Regions from separate parts of the Homo sapiens genome. Here region 2 is linked to region 1. Evidence: promoter capture Hi-C in 16 types of primary human blood cells and fetal thymus (Javierre and others, 2016). All regions are on one chromosome and are shown on one strand. The core of a region is centred on a gene start or on the middle of the fragment in contact, and the rest is flanking DNA. Distances in the headings are between cores, read along the strand shown. Region 1 holds the start of HTR2A-AS1 (HTR2A antisense RNA 1). Region 2 has its middle 180 kb from the start of LINC00562.

Region 1 (5,741 bases), core at 2,102-4,601:
TAGCTTTTTCATTGTTTCATTTTGTAGTTCATACTTTTTGGGTTTTAAGGATTAAGAGTGTTTACTCGTAAAGAACTTTGAGATGCATATGGAAATTACTGCTATCTGATATTACTTATACGTGGGAAGCAGGAATAGAAACAGGAGATAGGAAACTGAAAATAACAAAACCTCCACCCCAAGGGCTAAGCATTGTCATAATAAGTAATGAACAACTGAGACATTTAGCTGCCTCCTTGGCCTCTCAATTTGGATGTCTCCGATGGGCATCCCTAACCTTACACCGTCACACTAGGACTCTGGGTTGCACTCGCTCACCCCCCACCTTTCCTTATCCCAGTAAATGGTCCTACCATCTATCCAGATACACAGCTTAAAAACTTAGGAGTCTCTTTCCATTATCCTGCCTTTGCAAAAGACTCACCAGCATTCTAATAAGTCTACCTAATAATCTATCCTAATTTTACCTGCAAAATATACTTTTTGACCTAATCTGCCTACTTCTCTTTCTCCACTGCCATCTCTGTACTCTAAGCCACTAGGACTCCTGCCTGAATTACCACAAGACCTTCCCCACTGCCCTCAAGGGGCTCCCATCCTTACCTGTGTACCTCTGAGCCTAAGACCCTCAGAGACCCCGCACTGCACTGAGAATACCATCCAAACTCCTTACTTTGGCTGCAGGCCCTCAGAGATGTGGCTCTGCTGACCTCTCCTTCCCCCTCTCTTCTCACTCCCTTCCTTTCTTACTACACTTGAGCTGGACTGGCTGCTTTCTGCTCCTTCAACCCCGTAAGCTGGTTACTTCATCAGGGCCTTGGGACTTGCTGTTCCCACTGCCAGGAACACGCCACTCTCTACTGATATTACCATGGCTGGCTTCTTCTTATTTGGTGTCCATGTAAATGCCCTCTCCCCAGTCAGCCTTCCTCACCCTGCCTGAGTCACTCTGTAGCGGATTTCTCTGATTTGTTTTTTTCCTTTAGCAGTTGCCACTGTATGAGATTATCTTGTTTGGTCTATTTATTTGCTTGTCATCTCTCTGTTTACGTGAATGTGAGCTCCATAAAAGCAGATACTTTTCCTAAGACAGTGCATGGCACATAGTATTTAAATATTAAGCATGAAATAAAGATTTCTGGAATAAATGAAGAAGCAAATGCAGAGGCCTTTGGGAACACATACAACATAAAAAGAAGAGGAGAGAACAATTATGACTACCTAGTAGACTTCCTTATTACCTTAGTTATCTTGGCAAGGGCAAGAAATTGCCCAAATATAGATCATTTGGGGGCTAACAATTCTGACAAAGTAGGGCTTTATAGAAGTTGAAGGTAAAGCTAGTTAATTTGAGGACTTTCCCTAGACAGAGCCCTTTCTCTAATATCCTAGTTAATAATAATCATCCATCTTTACATGCTAACAGTGCATCAGGGAGGACTATGTCATGGTGGTGGTAGTAAATAATAATGATAAAAAATAACACAATCAAATACTTACATGGTGCTTACTGTGCTCCAGGCACTATCCTAAGTGCTTTATACAGATGAGCTCACTTACTCCTCACAGTCACCCTATGAGTTTGTGCTATTATTATCACTGTTTGCTGATGAGAAAGTGGAAGCACAGAGAAGTTAGGCAAGTTGCCAAATGTCACACAGTAAGTGCTGAAACTAGAATTTTGAGCCACAGCCTGGCTCTGTAGTCTGTATTTTTCTATGCTCTGTAGCCTCAGCACACTTTCGCCATCAGGTATGCAGGCTTGGGGATCAAACTTCCTCACTTCAGAAAAGTTGCTGCTTGAAGAGTTGCTGCTTCATTGCTGCTCAAGGCTGGCTCTTAGATCCGGAGCCTGGAATTCATGCAGTGTCCTACCTATGAAATCTTTCTGTGGGGACAGGCCTCCTTTTATCTGTGCTTGTGTTGCAGGGGCTATACGTTTCTCATTTAGAGCCATTTACATGCTATCTATGGGAAGACTGGCTATAGAAACCATCTTTTAAGAACTTAATGCTAAGGACCAGTTATGTTTTACTGCAAGTCTTTAATGCACAATGCCAAGATCAACATTTTTTGAAATTACAATTTTCTCTGCTATTTCTTACAATGCTTATTTTCTTTCCATGGTTCCCAGCTAATTGGTGTCCCGTACCTGTGCTGATGTTGAATGTTTTTCCTCCAAATTAACCTATAGATGATTTCTGGGGTGGGGGTGAGGATGGGGCAGAAACCCTTTGAAAAGGAGTGCAAAAGTTCATGTTCATGTGACTACGTACATTTTTCAGGAAAGAGGTAATTATCCCAATACTCTGCAACACAAAAAAGATTCTGAATCACTGAGCCTGGGTGTACAAACACTATGTCTTGTGTGTATGTGTCTGTGTATATGTGTGTTTCCTAGTAAAACCAGTTTCATATCTTCATAGTTCTATTTCTTCTGGATAGTACTTTTCTAGAGAATATGGCAGTAATTTCTAATTTTAAAAGACATAAGAAACAAAAGTCACAGTAAAAATCTAATCAGCCAAATAGTTTATAAGAAAATGCAGGAAAAAGATAAAGAATGAGCTCCTTGATACATTGTATATTCTGGTTCAAACATAGTACATGCACAGATACATACAGCACAAAACACACTAACTTTAATATCCTGTGGAGAAGTTAATTTGCTGGATTACACATATGCATGTTAAATGGGAGCATTTATTAGAATAAGTCAGACCAAAAGAACACTTTCGCACGGAATATTTATATAATGGAAACAGGGATTTCTGAAAAATTGCTTCAGTTTTCCAGGTGGCTTTACAAGGGCAGGATGGATGTAGAGTAACTGGGAGAGAGACTCTCCTTTTAGCAACATTCTGGGCATGAAAGGCAGTTGTGGATCCAGCCAAATAAGCTGCAAACTTCCCGATGATATATTCACCGCTTTTCTACATTTTGTGATAGTAATAAGGAAGGTGTTAGCTCTAGCCTGCTAAATGTTTGAATCTGATGCATTTTGTAATCAGCAGAATAATGGTCCCCAAAGATGCCTACGCCTAACTCCTGGATGCTGTGAATATGTTGTGTTATATGGCAAGGATAAACTAAAGTTGCAGATGGGAATTAAAGATGTCAATCAGCTGAGCTGGAAATAATTAGAGTGCCCTGGATTATCCAGGTGGGCCCAATGTAATCACAGATTTCCTTAAAAGTGGAAGAGGGAGGAAGGTGTGTTGGGTCAAAGTGATTCAATAAGAGCAGGATTCAATCTGTACTGGCTACCTTGGAAGATAACAGGAAAAGGACCGTGGGCCAAGGAGTGTAGGTGGTTTCTAGAAGCTGGAGGGGCCAGTGACATATTTTTTCCCTAGTGCCTCCAGAAAGAACGCAGCCCTACTGACACCTTGGTTTTGGCCTGGTGAGACCAACTTTGGACTTTTCACTTCCAAAACTGTAAGTAATAAATTTGTGTTGTTTTAAGCCAACAGCAGAGGTGTCATTTCAGTTTGTAGTCATTGCTACAGCAGCACTAAGGAGCTGGCACACATTGCCGGGACTCGCTCTGGCGCTTGGGCGGCACTGTAGGTGTCCACGTTCTTGGAGGTAGTCAGCAAAGGGGGGCTCTCTCGGCTGGGCTGGCCACGTCTGCTTACACAGAGTGCTACCCTCTTCCCACTGCGGTAACAGCCTTGCCTTAGCCCCTGTGTGTTTGGAGTGGCATTCGCTACAAAAGTTCTTTGTCAAAGGGACAAACGATGAGCTATGATGCCATTCAGACTGATGTGTTAACTTCTAAGCTTTCCTATGATTAAGATAATTGTTCTATGATATGAGGAGCGGCATTGCATGCAGTATATTTCTTTATGTGCTGTTAAAATGCAGTTCACGGCTGTAGACAGGTGGGGTGAAATTAGCACCAGACTGGGAGACAGAAGCCCTGATTTCTTTCCTTGGCCTGTCCACATACAAGCTATGGGTGTAATGAACTTTTGTTTTCCCATAAACATTTTAAAATCACTTAGTCATGCTCCTCAAAAAATTTTAACTTTTGGATTAAAACTGTTGAAACTGTAGATAATCTGGTGGAAAATGAACACCTTAGTTCTACAGTTAACAAAGGTAAGTTATCTCAATAATTTGAACATGTTATATTTTTATCTACTTAGGTCTTGTCTGTCCTATAATAGTTCTAGGGCTTTTTTTTTTCCTATAAAGTTCCTGGTAATTCTTATCTGATTTTTCTTTTTCTCCTTAATATAGTGCATTATTCTGAATTGTTAGGTAAAAGTTGGTCTGCTTGTTGTCAGTATCTTATAGAGTTTGTGCTTCTCATATGCCTAGAAATTTTTTCTTGTGACTTTATATCCCCTTCAGGGGATATAAGATGCCGTGATTAATATCGTACACCAGGAGAAGGGGTTACAGCCTGTGCGCCTCCTGGTGATCTTGATTAGGAAGAAGGGGAAGGTGGACCTTAGGGCAGATGGCCTCTAGCATTGAAATGTGGGCTCCCAGATCCTCCATCTGTCCACATCTTGCTGGACACCTCCATACTCATCTGCCTGGGCCACTTCTCTGACTCCCAATCCCCTAACCCTTGGGCTGGGAGGAGAAAGAGCTCAGAAGCCAGCAGGTTGCTCTCTTCCCTTGCTGTGTGCTCTCAGTGGTTGTTGGCAGCACACTGGAATCACCTGGCAGCCTTAAATACTGATAGTGAATTGAATCCATAGAGATTCTGATTTTGTGCATTCCAGGTGAGGCCAAGTGTATCAGGCTGTTTTAAACCTCCCCAGATGATTCTAATGTGCTGCTAAGGTTGAGATCCCCAGTCCCAGCCCTCTCCTGAAGCCACCCCACTGGCTGGAGAAGATACTGGGCTGACATTGCTTTTTCTCTGCCCTGCCATGGTCACTGGGTGGGCAGGCAGGCCCCTGTCCAGGGTAGCGTGGACACTCTTCCAAGGCAGCATCTACGACTCTCAGCTGTCACTCTCAGCTCTCCTCCATCTAAAACATCTTAGTTTTACAGTTGTGCTTTTCATATGCCTAGAAATTTCTGGGCTACATTTCTTTCCCATATATGGACTTCATGACCGTCTATTTTCCCAGAGGTTTTTTGCAGTTTTTATGCTAGTTTTTGATTCACCAATCTTTTCCTTCTGTTAGGTTTAAAGAAAAAAGTCTACAGTTCCAGTTAGTCTACTTTTGTAACAGGACCTGACAACTCCACTCTACTTCCAATCCTGAAAGACTACAGGAAAAACTAGCCCAAGTGACTGAGCTGGGGGGTCCCAGTCATCGGTAGCATGGGTATTTTGCTTTGGAATATTATCAAATAGCAGGGGGACCAGCACAGTGGACTTAGTGTCAAGTCTAGGATTTGATTCTTAGCTAACAAAACAAGTTTCCTCTCTGAGTTGTGACGATTAAATGCAATAAAATGGAAAAGTGCCCAGCAGTGATGGGCTTTCAGGAGATGCCATAGACATTAGCTGAATTTGAACATTTTCAACTTGAATGGGACAGAAACATTAACTGGAGTTGACAGGAGGATCAGCGATGTATCTAATAAGCAGCATTACAAATAGCACAAGCTTAGGTGTTCCTCAGCTACCACACCTTAGTGCTTGCTCCTCTGTTAGGATTATCTATTAGACTTTGCTATTTACTTTTATTAGATTTTTATATTACAAGAGGGGCACATAATAGAGCTCATGCAATTTGGTTCATTTCAGACTTGGGCCAGCTTTAGGTGAA
Region 2 (5,741 bases), core at 1,824-4,323, 900 kb after region 1:
TTTAGAAAGAAGGAAGCCAGTGCAAGGAAAGCCCTGAGCTGATTCCTTACTTGGGTCGAGCCCTCTTGAAGAGGATGGGCATTTCCCCATCCTCCTGTGGAGATGCCTGAGAAGGTCAGCAGAGGTGACACAACAGATCTTATAGACATGAGAGCACTGAGTGACCGTCAATAGGTGAAGAAATATGTCTCACTAACACATTAAGGTCATTTCTTGCTTATAGAGGGAAAACCAGAATATAATTCTAACTCTGAAGGTCCAGCCTTGTACAGAAGGACAAAACCCAAGAAACATACATACATTTCTATTCAAATTTATTTATGCTTCTTTTTATTTCCTTTAATGATGGAATGGTTTTTATCTGACCAGGAACTTATCATAATTGTCTTTCTTAGAAGACTTAATAGAAGACAGTTTTTTTCACTTCTAATATCATTTGTTTAATATGTTCTAGATATTTTTTCAAAATTGATTGAATCAACATCACTTTTAACTTCAAAAGGCATCATTTATAAGACAATATTTAAGCGGCAGTTCACCATTATAAATTAGTTTGATGAATTATGATATTATCTGCATTTAAGGTAAAAGATCTATTTGATTATTTAGGAAAAATCAGTAAATAAGGACCTGTGCAATTGCCTTTTGGGACCTTTGTTGATTTCTCTCATTCAAAGGGACACTATTATGGGTATTATCTGCACCTAGATGTTTAATGGCAGTGATGGTGATGATGATGATGATGATAGCAATAACATATGGCTTTATTTGGGAAATAATTCCTTTTATCTTATGCTAACTGCTAGGTGCCAGATATTCTATTTCAAAGCTGGTGTGGAATCCACAAGCTTGCTTTTAAATATCCATGGCAGTGCTGTATTCATAAACACTTCCTTGGAAATGTTATAGTCCTGGTAGGCATACTCCCTTAAGAAATAATAATAGTGACTACCTAAATGAGGACAATGAATCTTTTTAAAACATTGATCCCTCCTCATGGTTTCCAAAAGTCAAGATGTATTGGTTATCCATTGCAACATAACAAATGGCATGCAAAACAAATCACTACCCCAAAATGTAGTGATTTAAAACAATAAAATATATTATTTCCACTTTCGGAATTTAAAAGCAGCTTCAAGGGTGGTTCTGGCTTAGGGCATCTCATGAGTTGTGGTCAAAATGAAGGCTGGAGCTGATGTCATCCACACACTTCACTGGAACTGGAGGATCTGCTTCCAGGTTGGCTCACTCACACGCCTGGCGAGTCGCTGCTGCAAACCTCGGTTTCCCCCTACGTGAGCCTCTCCTCATGCAGCTTGGATGTCCTGAAACACAGTGATGAGTGACCCCCTGTTGAAAGCAATCCAAGAAGGCAAGGCAGAAATAGCGCCTGTTGTGATCCAGCCTCAGAAGTCACATACTGTGACTTCCAGTACATTCTATGAGTTAGAAGCAAATAACTAAGTCTACGCACATGCCAGGGGAGGGAAATTAAGAAGGGGAGGGACATGAGGTACGATCTTTCGAAGGAGCAATTTTGAAAGATTCGTGGACATATTTTAAAACCACCACATAAGGTTGTGTAGTCCCCAGATGAAACCGTTTGTGTTCAGTAAAATATTCTCACTTTAAAAAAATACATTTATTGAGCATTTTATAAGCATGACTTGAAAGTGATAAAATACTTTGATCACAGTCATTCTTTATGTGTGGCATGCTGACTGCATTGAAACTACAGAATTTGAATAACAATCCTTTGCAAATACAAGCATTTGTACAGTGATAGCTCAGTGTGCCAGATAATAGGCCACTGCCTCTCAGTGCCAAACCCACCCTCTGTACTCTCCCCTGTGATTCTCCTGCCAGCTTCTCCTTGTCAGGTGCTGCCGACAGGAGAATTAAACAGAGATTGCAAGGCTAGAGGAGGTAGAAGAGATTTGCTCCTTCCTCCTTGCTTCCTGTGTCACCCTGCTTTCCTTCTCTACACCAGCAGGTGCAGCTCCTTCCCAGAGCATCAACGGAACCAGTGCATTTTCCCGGTACTTGTGCATCTAGCCCCATTGTATGCCATCAGAAATACCGGCCAACCAGTGTCCCTGCCTTAGAAGCCAGGAAACCTACTCTCAGCTCAGAGAAACAAGTACCTGCTAAGCAATGGCTCCTTCTCAGAATTCTCGGTTTCAGCTCCGTGAGATCTCTCTTCCATGTTTCTAAGGTTTTCCAATTCCCACCTTTTCTCCTTGTTCTCCCAGCCCCAACAGTGGTAGCTACTTCCTGCATTTGATCCCTCCACAATAACTTCATTCATTTTGCCTTTCATTTCTTAGTTAACCGTTCTTTACATTAAATTCTCTCTTTTAAAACAAAACAAGTGGTGGTCTCTGTCTCCTGACTGTGTCCTGACTGCTACGTTCATAATGTAATTGTCCAAAAGAACAAGGAGATATGTGTAATGGAGGCTGTTGCTCAGAGTCTGGAAATTAGGTAAAGTCACAGGAAAATATTAGGGTGCCCTTACCAGTGCTTGGAGTCATTTAAGGTTGTACAACAAAATTATCAGTCATGAAATGGGGAACTATTATAAGCTGAATGCTTTGAATGTGAAAAGATAAATCTATTAGTGCTGTGGGTCTTTAAAGATCAAATCAGATGCACAGGGAAACACTGACTACCTTCAGAGCACCCTAGAGATGGATAAAGGGAGATGAGGGGTCCCACTTATGAAGAGGGCATGCGGGAAGTACTGGAGAACAGGCTATCCTGATACTTACAACCCTTTAACCAGATACAAACTCCGCTAAGGTGTCACTCTGACATTAAAATTAGGAATCTTCTATCTTGTGCTGAAAAGGGAAACCTTTGTGTTCATTCTCCCCGGGCATGAGAGATATATGAAAAGTAATCCTGTGTCACCTTGCTGTCTATGACAGAAATATTAGCTACATCCTCAATTAATAGCAAAGATTTTCATCAAGTGAAGGCAATACTGTCCCAAACTGGCAGGTATAGATTAAAGGAAAAAATAAGTCCAGAAGTCTGTTTTAGAAGGAAACTGTTATATGATTTTTTAAATGCCATCTGAGCAGAGAAAACACATTAAAAGTGGGGTGCAGAGGGTCACATATAAAACCGACTGGTTTTGACCCCAAACCATCTAGTGTATTTCTTGTAGAAATACTAATAAAGAACTTTTCTAGTTCTCTCTCTCTCTGTCTCTCTCCCTATCTCTCTCTCTGTCTCTCTCCTGCCCCCCCCACCCCTCCCTGCCTGTCTCACCATGGGTCGCCTAAGCACAGACACATCCATCTATCTGATTCACGGGGTAGTGGGAAGAGATAGTCTGCCTTTTCTGTTTCAACCCCAGCTACTTTGTTCTTTTTATCGTTTTTATTCCTTAGATATGACTATGATTTACATGCATATTTCTTAAATATATTCTGGGGGGTTAAAAAGACATCACTGCCAGAGCTACAAATTAGACTACCCAAGGCCATCTCCCCTTTACCCATTATATAAAGAAAGGAACAAGAAACATGGTTACAGAGTCACTGACGTGAATCCAGAAGTCAAATTTTAAAAAAAAAAAAAAAACAAAAAAGGAGTTTAATATGAGTTGGAAATAACAGAATATTAAATCAACCATAATAGCATGGATTACAAAATTTTAAGTATATACACAGTAAGTTCTAGAGAAGAACTACTATAATTGAAATTTTATTATACGAGTACTTATTTCAAAATTGCTGGGTTGAAACTAAATTAGCTCTTCCATATGGTTAAGTGGTTGTTTTTAGTTTGGGGTGAAATTTTGTTACAAGGCTAAGTATGAAATCTGTTTCCATAAATTTGCTTTAATTGCCTGCGTCTCCTAACCAAGAAGGAATATAAAGAACTGGGGCTATAAAGTGATAGTTTACCACCACCAAGACTTTAAGAAAATGTTACCAAATATTACAAGTTTAATAAAAGTCTTAACTATTGGAAATGTGAGGTGTTCTCAGAAAACTCAGTTCTTTATCTGGGCTAAAATCCAGGATCAGAGCACTAGCCCTCCACCACCCACAACACATAAAGGGCATAAAATCAGGGCAGAGGTAGCAAGACTCTACCCTGTGCTCATTCTCAGAGGGAGGAAACATGTACAGAAATTAAGGGCATGGGCCGGTCGCAGTGGCTCACGCCTGTAATCCCACCACTTTGGGAGGCCAAGGCGGGTGGATCACGAGGTCAAGAGATTGAGACCATCCTGGCCAACATGGTGAAACCCCCTCTCTACTAAAAATACAAAAATTAGGTAGGCATTGTGGCACACGCCTATAATCCCAGCTACTCGAGAGGCTGAGGCAGGAGAATCACTAGAACCCAGGAGGTAGAGGCTGCAGTGAGCCAAGATTGCACCACTGCACTCCAGCCTGGGCAACAGAGTGAGACTCCATCTCAAAAAGAAAAGAAAAAAGAAATTAAGAGCATGGTCTTTGAGGCAGGCAAACTGAGTTGTGAGTTTGAACTCAGACTACATAGTTCACCTGTCTCACCCCAATTTATTCGTCTGCAAATGGGACCACCAGCAAAGCTACTCTCAAGGGTACCAGAGATGCCCACATTGTCAAACTGAATGAGCTCTTTTCCACCTGGATAGTGGAAATACCCCTGAGATGCTTAATTCTATGTGTCAACTTGGCTAGACTGTGATGTCAAGCTATCTGGTCAAACACCAGTCTAGAAGTGGCTGTCAAGATGTTTTTCAAATGGGATTAACATTTAAATCAGACCTAGAACTCTTGACTTCATTTGGCACAGCTAAGACTGCCCCCCTTTTGAAACAATTTTCCCTATGCTTTCCACAAAGGAAGCCTTCTCAGCTCACACTCCTGCTCTGGTTCACAGTGCAATGAACCAGTCCTTCCTGACATCCTTTGGGCCATGTTTAGTAGGAGTTGAGGGCACTATTGTATAAGATCACTGATGGAGAATGCCATGTCCCCTGCTCACTCTGCCATGGCATTTCCCAGGTGAAATATCAGCTTCTCAACATCTGAGCTAAGCTCCCCGCCTTCCCTGCCTTTTCTGCACCTAAGGATGCCCACACTGTTTCTTTCTCTCTCTTCCTTCTTCCTTCCCTCTCTCTCCACTCTCCCTGGTAGTATCTCTCTCCCCTACCCACTGAAGTTGCCTGGATGGATGAGGTAGGGCTGTGCTCTTTGCTTACCCCAGAAATTGAGGGGATGATCTTGATTGTTCCTGCTTTTTATCCCCTTTCGCAATCAACACCAAGTTTGCTCATTCTATTTTCAAACTAAAGCTTGACTCCAGCCACTTCTCTCAATCCCCTCAGTCATCACCCTAGTCCACCATCTTCTCTCACTTTGATGGTGGAAATACCCCCTGAGATGGTTAATTCTGTATGGCAACTTGGCCAGGCTGTGATGTCAAGCTGTCTTGTCAAACACCCATCTAGAAGTGTCTGTGACGGTGTTTTTCAGAGTGATTAACATTTAAATAAGTAGATTTTCAGGAAAGCAGATTATCCTCCATAGCTGGGCTTCATGCAATTTTTGATAGCCTGAAGAGAAAAGATCTAGGTCCCCTGAAGAGGAAAGAATTCTGCCTCCAGATTGCCACTGGACTCAGGACTGCATCATCAACCCCTGCTGGAATTTCCAGCCCACTTGCCCTGTAGACTTGCTAGCCCCCACAATTAAGTGAGCCATCTCCTTAACATTCTCTCTCTCTCTCTCTCT

The links. Contacts are between HindIII fragments. The CHiCAGO score rates a contact against its expected background, and 5 or more counts as called.
Region 2: a fragment that was not itself captured here is called in contact with the fragment with the promoter of HTR2A-AS1 in region 1 in 8 of 17 cell types (naive B cells, M1 macrophages, megakaryocytes and 5 more); the score reaches 8.7 in naive B cells.

The regions. Positions count from the first base shown.
Region 1 is chr13:46,848,789-46,854,529 of GRCh38, forward strand. It overlaps HTR2A-AS1 (HTR2A antisense RNA 1), which reads left to right and starts at 3,352. Exons shown (of 2, transcript NR_103752.1): 1 at 3,352-3,438. All of the region lies in intron 3 of HTR2A (5-hydroxytryptamine receptor 2A), which reads right to left. The HindIII fragment of the contact is 4,589 bases long and covers 1-3,780 here.
Region 2 is chr13:47,746,100-47,751,840 of GRCh38, forward strand. No RefSeq gene overlaps it. Among named protein-coding and RNA genes, the nearest start is that of LINC00562, 180 kb to the right of the region's middle. The HindIII fragment of the contact is 4,454 bases long and covers 847-5,300 here.